Linked DNA regions of Homo sapiens: region 2 is linked to region 1. The links are contacts of gene promoters, found by promoter capture Hi-C in blood cells and fetal thymus (Javierre and others, 2016). All regions are on one chromosome and are shown on one strand. The core of a region is centred on a gene start or on the middle of the fragment in contact, and the rest is flanking DNA. Distances in the headings are between cores, read along the strand shown.

Region 1 (3,238 bases), core at 388-2,887:
TACACTTCTTCAGCATTGACACCAAGCCCTTTAATTCATCTGTCCATCCAACCCCTCCTCACTGTAGTGTCAGCCCAAGGATCATGTGGTTGCAGCTTAACTCACCAGGGCCTCTCTTATCCCAGCCACAGATCATGGTGCCCATGGACAGCCCCATGCCTTTGTACTGATACACCATGTTGGCAAGCAGTTTGGAGGCAGCTGCTACAGAGATGCGTTCCTTATTTCGAAGCTCATAGATTCGACATTGCCGAGCCAACAGCCGTTCCCAGAAGCTGCAATCCGCTGCGCCCCCAGCCATGGTGCCTAGCAGGTATGGGTTGATCTCTATCACCTTCTTCACCGTCTGGGAGGCAATGTAAGCACCCGCTGTAGCCCTGGAGTCAGCTGCAACTATGACTCCATGGCGGAACTGTTAAGATCAGAGGAAAACACAAAACAGGCCACATAAGACCACAAAAACACTCCTACATACTTCTTTTTGCATCAATCCAAACCCAGCACATCTCTTTCTCCGTCCTTTTATACTTCACAGTATACTTCTATACTTCACCATATATTAATGTCACCCGAGCTTCACATCAATCCCTTGACATGGATATAACCCATATTAAATTCATTTTATAGGATGGGCGTGGTGGCTCACTCCTGTAACCCAGGCATTTTGGGAGACCAAGGCGGGAGGACCGCTTGAGGCCAGGTGCTGGAGACCAGCCTGGGCAACACAGGGAGATCCATCTCTACAAAAAGTAAAAAAACTTAGCCTGTCGTGGTGGTGTGTGCCTATAGTGTCAGCTACTCTGGAGGCTGAGGCGCTGGAGCCACTGCACTCCAGCCTGAGCGACAGCGAAAAGCCCTGTTTCAAAAAAAAAAAAAAAACAAATCATTTTATAGATGAGGAAACAGGTTCAATGAAATCAAATGATTTCTCAATCTAGAGCTAGTTATTGCAGAGCTGGGCAAGGAACCCCAAATGTCTGATTCTTAGTACAATGCTTACCCTCACCACGCTTCCCCTTCATGCCAGTTTCAGTTACCCCTGCCTTGAGGGGCCGCCCAGTTTCCAAAACTTTGGTAAACGTTTACAATAGCCTTCCCTCGGCCAAGATTCATTGTTGTTGCGGCCTTTCCCAGCTAGAAGATCCTGAACAGCAGCAACCTGGGGTCGCCTAGGAATCAACCCAAGAGGCCTCACCTTCCTCCCCCGACTTACCCCCGGCCCCACCGCCACCCTTTCCAACCAGAGCAAAGACAGGGGCCTCCTGGGCCAATGAGACAGCAAAACTGCTGCGGTCCGAACGAGAGGACCCAGCCTCCGCCTGGGTTGGTGGCCAAGGCCACCGCAAACTCCGGTCAGGCTGGGAGGCCAGGCAAGTCGCGGGCGTTCAGTACTCAGCCTGGCAAGGGGGCTGGCTCCACACCTTGAAGGCCAGGGTGGTTGTTCCATGAAGCATTTCGATTCCTGGCTCTTCTGGGACACCCCAGCCTGGCGCGGCCAGGCTCAGACCATCACTGAGACTCCCTGGACCTAGATCCAGCAGATCTGCACGACCCCCAAGTCCGAAAAACCCGCGCTGGTTCACCGGTAGCGGTCTCTCCAACACGCTGGCAAGCGCCATGTCTAGTGTGGGCAGAAAGAACTAATTCTGAGAACGCCTAGCAAAGATAGGCCGGGCAACGCCTCGCCGTCACAGCTTCACTTCCTATTAAATCTATTCCGGAATGGAGCCATTTTGACTGCTGGCAAGCACGCCTCCAAAAAGAAGAGCCAGATGCGAAAGACCATTTTCACTGAAGGGGGTCGGGGAAATAGATGGCTTCACTAACCTTAAATTCTAAAAGGACGTACCTGCCATCTTGGCTTTGGTCATGCAAGTAGTCCTGGATCAGAATAACCTCAAAATCACAGGAAGTGACTGAAAACGTCCATGTTGCGTAAGGGAAGTGAGGTCGGCCATCTTTGAGAAGGGCGTGACTGGTTGAAAATCGGTTCTGAACCCTTAGCGGTGAGTCCTCCCACTCCAGCCTGGTGTCCAAGCAACAGGTTACATCGCTGCTGCTTCAGCACCTTGTTAACGCGCCTGAGGTTGCCATCTTGTTTAAGGGCACCTTCTAAAATTGGGTAAAATAATGATCCATTCTGAGGCCATTTCCCTATATTAGTTAAACCACAGCAATTAGTGGTAAAACAACGCAACAAAATAAAAGTGCTATACCTCTTGTTGTCAGTCGCCATACAGCAACCCTTCTTTAACAGTAACCGGTTATTAATATCCAATATTCGTTCTCTTGACTCCTACCTTCTGGTGGAAATTCGAATAAGTAATGAATTGCCTAAAAGGCAGATGGAAGAAGAAAAAGCAAAGGGTCCAGTTAATCCACAAACTAGATTCTCAGTTCAGACCTGAATAAGTGTCAGTAGTAATTTACCATCTCAGAGACGGGAGGACGGTTGAGACTGCATAAATATGTACCAAGAGATTCTCTAACTTCAACTTGCTAAGATGATGCCTTTTATTCAGGAACATACTATATTTCATTGCCTCTTCCTCCCTCCACCCACCTTCATTTTTCAAATCTTTTGGGAACTATAACAAACCGGGAAGTGTGCATATGTATGAAATGTTGCCTCCTGCTTTATGGTTCTATGAAGTCAGTCTCTGGCCTTCCTTGTTGGATTCTAGCAGCAACATCTATCAACACCGAAATTCCACTTTCCTCTGATGCCCAGTTCGGCCCCATCTTTCCCCCAGCAGACTCTGCATATGCTGTATTGTTTTTGTTTGTTTGTTTGTTTGTTTTTTGAGACCAAGTCTTGCTGTGTCCCCCAGGCTGGAACACAGTGGCACGATCTCTGCTCACTGCAACCTCTGCTTCCCAGGTTCAAGCGATTCTCCTGCCTCAGCCTCCCGAGTAGCTGGGATTACAGGCGCCTGCCTCCACAACAGGCTAATTTGTGTGTGTGTGTGTGTGTGTGTGTGTGTGTGTGTGTGTGTGTGTGTTTAGTAGAGACGGGGTTTCACCGTGTTAGCCAGGATGGTCTTGATCTCCTGACCTCGTGATCCACCCACCTCGGCCTCCCAAAGTGCTGGGATTACAGGCATGAGCCACCGTGCCCGGCCTCACGCCTGGCTAATTTTTGTATTTTTAGTAGAGATGGGGTTTCACCATATTGGCCACGCTGGTCTCAAACTCTTGACCTCAGGTGATCCGCTTGTTAGCCAGGATGGTCTTGATC
Region 2 (3,199 bases), core at 377-2,876, 490 kb before region 1:
TAGAGACTATTATACCAGACAGAGCAGCCTAGATCTTCTCCAGTCTGACACCCACCAGCCCCAGGACTTGAGTGAGTGTTTAACCAGGACTCAAAGTTGGGTTTCTGCCCCACAAGGCCACCCCCTTTCCTCTTTAAAGCCAACCTGCATCTGGTGGCCCCTGATCCCCTGCCTTGAGGATCGGCACTTCCAGACTCCTCTCCCCCTCTGCAGTGCTGTCCAGTACCCCCACTGATGACTAACAATCAGGGGGATGTGTTGGTAGAGCTAATGGCTTTCTGTCTGTCCCTTCCCAGCAAAGGAACTATGCCTTAGGGCCTTCACCCAGAGTGATGTCAGGCTGCCCAAGCATGAGGAGGGAAGTAGGCAGAATCCTCTGGAGCCAAAGCTCTGGATGTCTCTCCCCTCTGACCATGGAGCCCACCCCTGCTCCACTGCTCCAGGGACAGCCCTATGCTGCAGGCAGCTCTGCCCCCACTCAGCATCCCAGGGGCTGATTTCTTTGGTTTTGGATCCAGCTGGATGTCTGCATTGCCGAGGCCACCAGGGCTGGCTCAGCAACTGTCGGGGAATCACCAGGGTCTGAGAAATCTTGTGCGCATGTGAGGGGCTGTGGGAGCAGAGAACCACTGGGTGGGAAATTCTAATCCCCACCCTGCTGGAAACTCTCTGGGTGGCCCCAACATGCTAATCCTCCGGCAAACCTCTGTTTCCTCCTCAAAAGGCAGGAGGTCGGAAAGAATAAACAATGAGAGTCACATTAAAAACACAAAATCCTACGGAAATACTGAAGAATGAGTCTCAGCACTAAGGAAAAGCCTCCAGCAGCTCCTGCTTTCTGAGGGTGAAGGATAGACGCTGTGGCTCTGCATGACTCACTAGCACTCTATCACGGCCATATTCTGGCAGGGTCAGTGGCTCCAACTAACATTTGTTTGGTACTTTACAGTTTATTAAATAGATGTTTATATGGAGAAGCTCTCATTTCTTTCTCAGAAGAGCCTGGCTAGGAAGGTGGATGAGGCACCATATTCATTTTGCAGGTGAAATTCCTGAGATGTAAGGAGCTGCTGTGACTTGCTCAAGGCCTTATATCGAGTAAACGGTAGTGCTGGGGCTTAGACGCAGGTGTTCTGATTTATAGTTCAAAACCTCTATCAATGAGAGAGCAATCTCCTGGTAATGTGATAGATTTCCCAACTTAATGCCAACATACCATAAACCTCCCATTCTGCTAATGCCCAGCCTAAGTTGGGGAGACCACTCCAGATTCCAAGATGTACAGTTTGCTTTGCTGGGCCTTTTTCCCATGCCTGCCTTTACTCTGCCAGAGTTATATTGCTGGGGTTTTGAAGAAGATCCTATTAAATAAAAGAATAAGCAGTATTATTAAGTAGCCCTGCATTTCAGGTTTCCTTGAGTGGCAGGCCAGGCCTGGCCGTGAACGTTCACTGAAATCATGGCCTCTTGGCCAAGATTGATAGCTTGTGCCTGTCCCTGAGTCCCAGTCCATCACGAGCAGCTGGTTTCTAAGATGCTATTTCCCGTATAAAGCATGAGACCGTGACTTGCCAGCCCCACAGAGCCCCGCCCTTGTCCATCACTGGCATCTGGACTCCAGCCTGGGTTGGGGCAAAGAGGGAAATGAGATCATGTCCTAACCCTGATCCTCTTGTCCCACAGATATCCAGAACCCTGACCCTGCCGTGTACCAGCTGAGAGACTCTAAATCCAGTGACAAGTCTGTCTGCCTATTCACCGATTTTGATTCTCAAACAAATGTGTCACAAAGTAAGGATTCTGATGTGTATATCACAGACAAAACTGTGCTAGACATGAGGTCTATGGACTTCAAGAGCAACAGTGCTGTGGCCTGGAGCAACAAATCTGACTTTGCATGTGCAAACGCCTTCAACAACAGCATTATTCCAGAAGACACCTTCTTCCCCAGCCCAGGTAAGGGCAGCTTTGGTGCCTTCGCAGGCTGTTTCCTTGCTTCAGGAATGGCCAGGTTCTGCCCAGAGCTCTGGTCAATGATGTCTAAAACTCCTCTGATTGGTGGTCTCGGCCTTATCCATTGCCACCAAAACCCTCTTTTTACTAAGAAACAGTGAGCCTTGTTCTGGCAGTCCAGAGAATGACACGGGAAAAAAGCAGATGAAGAGAAGGTGGCAGGAGAGGGCACGTGGCCCAGCCTCAGTCTCTCCAACTGAGTTCCTGCCTGCCTGCCTTTGCTCAGACTGTTTGCCCCTTACTGCTCTTCTAGGCCTCATTCTAAGCCCCTTCTCCAAGTTGCCTCTCCTTATTTCTCCCTGTCTGCCAAAAAATCTTTCCCAGCTCACTAAGTCAGTCTCACGCAGTCACTCATTAACCCACCAATCACTGATTGTGCCGGCACATGAATGCACCAGGTGTTGAAGTGGAGGAATTAAAAAGTCAGATGAGGGGTGTGCCCAGAGGAAGCACCATTCTAGTTGGGGGAGCCCATCTGTCAGCTGGGAAAAGTCCAAATAACTTCAGATTGGAATGTGTTTTAACTCAGGGTTGAGAAAACAGCTACCTTCAGGACAAAAGTCAGGGAAGGGCTCTCTGAAGAAATGCTACTTGAAGATACCAGCCCTACCAAGGGCAGGGAGAGGACCCTATAGAGGCCTGGGACAGGAGCTCAATGAGAAAGGAGAAGAGCAGCAGGCATGAGTTGAATGAAGGAGGCAGGGCCGGGTCACAGGGCCTTCTAGGCCATGAGAGGGTAGACAGTATTCTAAGGACGCCAGAAAGCTGTTGATCGGCTTCAAGCAGGGGAGGGACACCTAATTTGCTTTTCTTTTTTTTTTTTTTTTTTTTTTTTTTTTTTGAGATGGAGTTTTGCTCTTGTTGCCCAGGCTGGAGTGCAATGGTGCATCTTGGCTCACTGCAACCTCCGCCTCCCAGGTTCAAGTGATTCTCCTGCCTCAGCCTCCCGAGTAGCTGAGATTACAGGCACCCGCCACCATGCCTGGCTAATTTTTTGTATTTTTAGTAGAGACAGGGTTTCACTATGTTGGCCAGGCTGGTCTCGAACTCCTGACCTCAGGTGATCCACCCGCTTCAGCCTCCCAAAGTGCTGGGATTACAGGCGTGAGCCACCACACCCGGCCTGCTTTTCTTAAAGATCAATCTGAGTGCTGTACGGAGAGTGGGTTGTAAGCCAAGAGTAGAA

What was found. The method cuts DNA at HindIII sites, captures the fragments that hold promoters and counts their contacts. A CHiCAGO score of 5 or more calls a contact.
Region 2: a contact is called between a fragment that was not itself captured here and the fragment with the promoter of PSMB5 in region 1, in 1 of 17 cell types (neutrophils). The highest score is 5.7, in neutrophils.

The regions. Positions count from the first base shown.
Region 1 is chr14:23,033,263-23,036,500 of GRCh38, forward strand. It overlaps PSMB5 (proteasome 20S subunit beta 5), which reads right to left and starts at 1,638. Exons shown (of 3, transcript NM_002797.5): 1 at 1,422-1,638; 2 at 106-412. The coding sequence starts at 1,619. RefSeq lists enhancers at 1,364-2,563, 1,364-2,033, 1,818-2,112. The HindIII fragment of the contact is 18,957 bases long and covers 1-3,238 here.
Region 2 is chr14:22,545,823-22,549,021 of GRCh38, forward strand. It overlaps TRA and TRAC. Among named protein-coding and RNA genes, the nearest start is that of LINC02332, 9.6 kb to the right of the region's middle. The HindIII fragment of the contact is 4,442 bases long and covers 1-3,199 here.